Linked DNA regions of Homo sapiens: region 2 is linked to region 1. The links are contacts of gene promoters, found by promoter capture Hi-C in blood cells and fetal thymus (Javierre and others, 2016). All regions are on one chromosome and are shown on one strand. The core of a region is centred on a gene start or on the middle of the fragment in contact, and the rest is flanking DNA. Distances in the headings are between cores, read along the strand shown. Region 1 holds the start of ITM2C (integral membrane protein 2C). Region 2 holds the start of SNORA75 (small nucleolar RNA, H/ACA box 75).

Region 1 (3,203 bases), core at 312-2,811:
TAAAAGGGCAGGGGGTTCTCAGTCTCCTGGCATTCCTCACTCAGGGTCTCTGCCCAGGCTGACACCCAACTCTGACGGCCCTCTCCGGCGCCCCCTCCTCCAGGGTCCAGGTCATCCTCTGCAGGCCCCTTAATGCCCCAGGCAAGACTGAACCTGAGCCACAAAACCTGGGGAGGGGGCTAGGCGTTCAGGAAGACTCTTCAGAAGCCTGCATCTGGAAGTGGGGAAGCAGTGGACAAAGACTTTCTCAGTCCTGCCTCAATGCGGGGTGGGGAGGCGGGGAGGACATGGGCTTGGTAAGCCACAAGACCGCTGGGGGCGGCGCCCACGTAGACACCTTTGCCAGGCACAATAAAACCTGGCTGGGCCAGCTCTCCCTCCCTCCCTGTCCCTGCCCGCCACGCGTTCTGCCCCCTGCGGGCCCTTCCCGGACACAAGGCACGCAGCTCAGACAGTTTTCCACGGCGGAAATGCCTTCTCTCCCCCCCGGCCAGAGGGAAAGTGGAGGAAGCCGGGGTAGGGGAGGGGGATGACAGGGGTGGGGGAACGCGCACAGAGCCCGGGGACCCAGGATGCAAGGGCACTGGGGCAGTTGGGAGCCCTCCCCGTGGGGTCGGGGGACAGCCCAGCGAGAGGCTGGGAATGGAGAAAAGAGAGGGGAGCAGGGAGGCCCAGACGGCAGGGCGTGGGGTGGGAAGGGGGCACCCGGCCTCGGACCCCCGACGTCCAGAGGCCGCAGCGCCGTCGGTTCTGGCTGATTTCCATTTCATCACTTTCTGGTCTGTCAATTCCGGTGCAGGCCAGCAGCACATCCTCTGTCCCTCGCAGCCCCCAATTTCGGAGGAAATCAACGGCCCCACCCTCTTCGTTGGTACCAGACCCCCCCACCCCCAATTCCCCAGCCAATCAGGTCCCACCGCCCTACTTTGGAAAAACTACGTCTAACCCTCCTCCCATCCCCCACCTGGGGACTCGACTCGCGGCTTTCCCAGTTGATTGGAACCAGACGCGTACCCCCCCACCAACATTCCTCGAACTTCTTCGGACCAGCCCCCTCCCCCTATAAGGCGGCGAGGGGGCCCCCACTTTTGGAAGAGACCTCGAGCACTTCTCCACCTGAAGACCAGAACCAGACGCCTCCCACTCTTCGGACTTCAGCTTTTGGCTGCCGCTTTAGTACGGGACTTAAGCCCCCTCCTCATTCTGGGATAAGCAACCATTCGAGACTTCCCAACCCTGCTCCACCCCGGGCTCTGGGGCCCTGACGCGCCTCGGGCAGTCCCCAGGGCCGACGGGGCGCGCCTGGGTCGTGAGCCTGGGTCCCCCGCCCCACCGCCTGAGCCCCAGACCCTCTCACCCTAGCCGGCGTCAGCAGGATCTCGGTGGCCGAGGCCGGCGCAGGGGCCGACGCCGACGCCTTGTCAGCCTTGTCGCCCTTGATGCCAGCCACGGCGGGCTGGAAGCTAATCTTCACCATGGCTGCGCCGGCCCGCGCGTCCGCCCCGCAGCCTCTGCCGGTGCAGCCTCGGTCTCTGCCTCCGCCGCTCCGAGCTCTGCAGGCACCGGAAGTTTGGATCCCGCTCGCGTCCCTCTCTCTAACCCCACCCCCAGCCCTCCCCGCCCCGTCCCCGCGGGAGGGCCCCGGCGCCCGCCGCGCCTGCGCCCCCTTCCCGCCCGCGGGGCCCGCAGTGACCCCTGCCGGGCGCGCCGCTCCGCACCTGGGGCGGGTCGGAGTTCCTTCTGCCGCTCGCTCGCACAGTCACTCACTCGCTCGCTCACTCACTCACTCACTCACTCGCTCACTCATTCATTCAGCCGTCACGCTCGGATCCGTTCTCCGTAGCATAATCCCTTCGCATTCCCTGTCCAAGGCCAGCATCCCCGCAACGCAAGTCTTTGTTAACCCAGTGTTTGCCAGGCAAATGCAGCTTCCAGACAACTCACCCGTCTCTCCTGCCCCACTTCAGGTCTTCCCCTTTAGAAACGCTGGAGCCTCCGCTCTACCTGTCCCCACGCCCCCCTCCTCCGACCTGTCCTTGGCGCGGGGAGGAGGCTTTGAGACAGGCGCCAAACTGCTGCCTCCGTCTTGCCTTCTGAAGCCATCCACGCCTCCTTCATCCTCCATCTTGCTTCTGCCTTCATTCTTTATTCCTGCAAAACCTTCCTGGGGGGTCCTGGGGTGCACGCTGGAGCCGCCTGGAGTGGAGAAGGGAAGGCCGCCCCTGCTCCCTGGCTCCTTCGTGTTGCTGCGACCTCAGTTATTGGGTGACCTCCTGAACTGCCCTTGTCTCACTCATCCAGGAGGACCCTGGCGAGAGTGGAGGGAAGACCCCCAGGGCGGGTGTCAGAGGCTCGGGTTCCACTCAAGACTCTGCTCCTCCCAAGTATCACGGGTACTGGGGAAGCAGGGGCTTCTGTTGCTGGGATGGCTGCTCTTGGCACTAACGCCCTGAATCTTTCCTCTTTGCTCCTGGTCCAGACTGGGCCAGGGACAGCGCCCAGCAACACACACAGGTTGTGCTGAGTGGTCCGCTTTGGTTCTGCTGTTGGGCTGCCAGTGGAGGGCAGGGGAGTCCGTCCGCTTCTTGAGGACAGTCCGGGGTCCTCCACTGATCTCTCTTCTCACCTTTCAGGTCTTTTGCAGCTGCCTTGGGCCCTTAGCGCCCACGTCCCAGACCCGGACCTCTTGGCTCAGATCTTGGATGAACCTAGCAACCTTGAGGACAGACAGGTGGGGAAAGAAGAAAGTCTAACTGATGCTAAGGCCACCAGCCTGGGGAACTGGGGGGAGGGAATGGGGAGGTGGAAGAAGACAGATGGTTTGGAGGAGACGAGGAGGAATCTGGTTTGGCACAGAGCCAGAGAGGAAGGTGTTATGGACTACCGCTCATCACCTGCTCCAGATCCCATGGGAAACCTGGTGTCTGGAGAAGGCAAGCTCCACGTCTTGCTTAGGCCACACCCCCAACATGCATTCCTTCACTCAGTGTTTTCCAAGCACCCCTGTGTGCCAAGCATTGTGTTAAGCTCTGTGGCAGAAAACAGAGATGCCCAAGACACAACCCAGCCACCAAGGATGTGGTCATGTGAAACCTTCTATGAGTGGCATTCTTTCACGTGCATTCAATTATTTAATTTTCATCACAGCCTCTGTGACCTACACATTAGCCTCATGTTAATAGTGATAGAAGGTAGCATGACTA
Region 2 (2,500 bases), core at 1-2,500, 590 kb before region 1:
TGAAGATGCTGCGGAGATCAGATTAGTCAGCAAGGATGGGAAAAGTAAAGGGTATGTTCTGTCTATTGAAATGTAAGGGTTTTATTAACATTAATGCACTTTCCTGCTTTATAAAAGAAATATTGGTTTGATTTCCTTAGGCGTGTAATCTTGGACAGTTTAACCTGTAAGTTTGTGCCTCAGTAACCCATCTGTACCATGGGGATAATGTACTCATAGGGTGATTTTAAAAGACAAGCTAATACTTACAAAGAAGCAAGAAATGTGCCTATCTTACAATAAATACTTTGTAAGTAGTAGCAGTTCTTTCAGTGAGGTGAGGTTACTATGAAAAAATTCCAAGTATTTGTAAAACTAGTGGGAAGTAAGAGGGAAGCTCGAGTTTTGATTGAAAAGTGGCATAAAACTAAGGGCATTTATTGTACTCAGATCTGAAGCAAGTTCTGTGTTGCTGAGGTAAAAGCATTTGTGTTAATATGGTTTTAAAAACCATGAGTTCTTCTCCCTCCATTGCAGGATTGCTTATATTGAATTTAAGACAGAAGCTGATGCAGAGAAAACCTTTGAAGAAAAGCAGGGAACAGAGATCGATGGGCGATCTATTTCCCTGTACTATACTGGAGAGAAAGGTCAAAATCAAGACTATAGAGGTGGAAAGAATAGCACTTGGAGTGGTAAGAAATTAGGCTTGTTACAAGGTTTCAGAATTGGTGGAGGGAACTCCTTTGTGTCTTTGTATTTCATAAGTTTATAAATACTTTTTAATCAAAGTTACTCAAATGTAGGTGAAGATCAAGGACATGATACCCCAAGTCATACTCTTATTTGGAATAGTAATTTCCAATCTTGAATGAGAGCTCTAAAATCATTTTGCATTGGAATACAGTAGGCAAATCAAGCTTCCTTTGTAGGCATGTTTTATACTTTAAATGACTTGACCATGTGCGTTTTGAACTCAGATGATTCTAGGAAAACAGACCAGTCATCAGCCTATGTAAGAACAACCAGCAGGACATTGCAACACGTACTAGGTACTTAATATGTTGAGTAACAGAAATGGATTTAGCTTACGTCATGAGTATTTGTATATTAACTCAAGCACTGAAATTCTTAGGAATAAGATATTACTGTTGTGACCGAAGCTGGGAACCACTGTTTCAGAGTCTTAGGAATGTGGCATCTCTATTTGCAGGTGAATCAAAAACTCTGGTTTTAAGCAACCTCTCCTACAGTGCAACAGAAGAAACTCTTCAGGAAGTATTTGAGAAAGCAACTTTTATCAAAGTACCCCAGAACCAAAATGGCAAATCTAAAGGGTAAGATAATACCTTTGTATCATCAGTTATAGGCTATATATGTCTTAGAGGTCTAAAGGAACGTAAGGTCATGTGATCCTGTCAGAAAAGCCAAATAATTTTAGCTACGTAAATGAGTGTAAAATAAAGATCATCATTTAGGTACCAACTTGAGAGAAGGGGCTTGGCAGCATCATGTGACAGTGAAGGAGCATGTGCCTGGTAACTTACTCTAAGCATTAACTGTTCATCCTCAGGTATGCATTTATAGAGTTTGCTTCATTCGAAGACGCTAAAGAAGCTTTAAATTCCTGTAATAAAAGGGAAATTGAGGGCAGAGCAATCAGGCTGGAGTTGCAAGGACCCAGGGGATCACCTAATGCCAGAAGCCGTAAGTTCACCTGGTTAGGGTGCTGTGGTTGGGGGTAGCACTCTCGGTGCTTTGTTTATTTTTTGCACAAATTCTGTGTTTCCTGTTGCTACTGAGTGAACAATAACTGGATATGATGACTGATTACCTGAGAAATAATTGATGAAATCTCAAGAAAATTCCTCTAGATAGTCAAGTTCTGATCCAGCTGTGTCAACTCAGAGTAGCAAGTTTGCCCATGATTTCCTGCCCCATCCACTGGGCCCCACCTGCTTGGGTTGCTTCTCCCACTTTCCATAGAAGATCTGGGGCAGGATATCAACTATGCAATGGCAATTAAAAAATGTAAACCCAGAATAGCCTTTACTTTAATTAAGGACTAGTTGGCTTAGTTGCTTTTAACTGCTTTTTCACTATAACAAGTATTCTTGGCTAGTAGTCATACTAGGCATTGTGCAAATTCAGTGTTACGAACTGTGACTTCACATAAAGTCACATTTTTTTTTCCTTCCCAGAGCCATCCAAAACTCTGTTTGTCAAAGGCCTGTCTGAGGATACCACTGAAGAGACATTAAAGGAGTCATTTGACGGCTCCGTTCGGGCAAGGATAGTTACTGACCGGGAAACTGGGTCCTCCAAAGGGTAAGGGAAGGAAGCGTGAGTGCTGCTTCCACTTGAAGGGGTTTTTGTTCTGTGCAGACCTTGAGTCTAATGTGTCTTCTCATTGAGCTCCTTTCTGTCTATCAGTGGCAGTTTATGGATTCGCACGAGAAGAAGAGAGAATTCACAGAACTAGCATTATTTTACCTTCTGTCTTTACAGAGGTATATTTAGC

The links. The method cuts DNA at HindIII sites, captures the fragments that hold promoters and counts their contacts. A CHiCAGO score of 5 or more calls a contact.
Region 2: a fragment that was not itself captured here is called in contact with the fragment with the promoter of ITM2C in region 1 in 1 of 17 cell types (fetal thymus); the score reaches 7.1 in fetal thymus.

The regions. Positions count from the first base shown.
Region 1 is chr2:230,863,300-230,866,502 of GRCh38, reverse strand. ITM2C (integral membrane protein 2C) reads right to left here and starts at 1,561. Exons shown (of 6, transcript NM_030926.6): 1 at 1,358-1,561. The coding sequence starts at 1,477. RefSeq lists silencers at 362-461, 1,252-1,341, 1,442-1,811 and enhancers at 245-901, 902-1,560, 2,219-2,877. The HindIII fragment of the contact is 7,451 bases long and covers 1-3,203 here.
Region 2 is chr2:231,455,817-231,458,316 of GRCh38, reverse strand. NCL (nucleolin) reads left to right here. Exons shown (of 14, transcript NM_005381.3): 8 at 1-51; 9 at 517-674; 10 at 1,193-1,316; 11 at 1,553-1,686; 12 at 2,181-2,307. SNORA75 (small nucleolar RNA, H/ACA box 75) reads left to right here and starts at 2,381; the gene lies at 2,381-2,500. SNORD20 (small nucleolar RNA, C/D box 20) reads left to right here and starts at 1,794; the gene lies at 1,794-1,873. The HindIII fragment of the contact is 697 bases long and covers 902-1,598 here.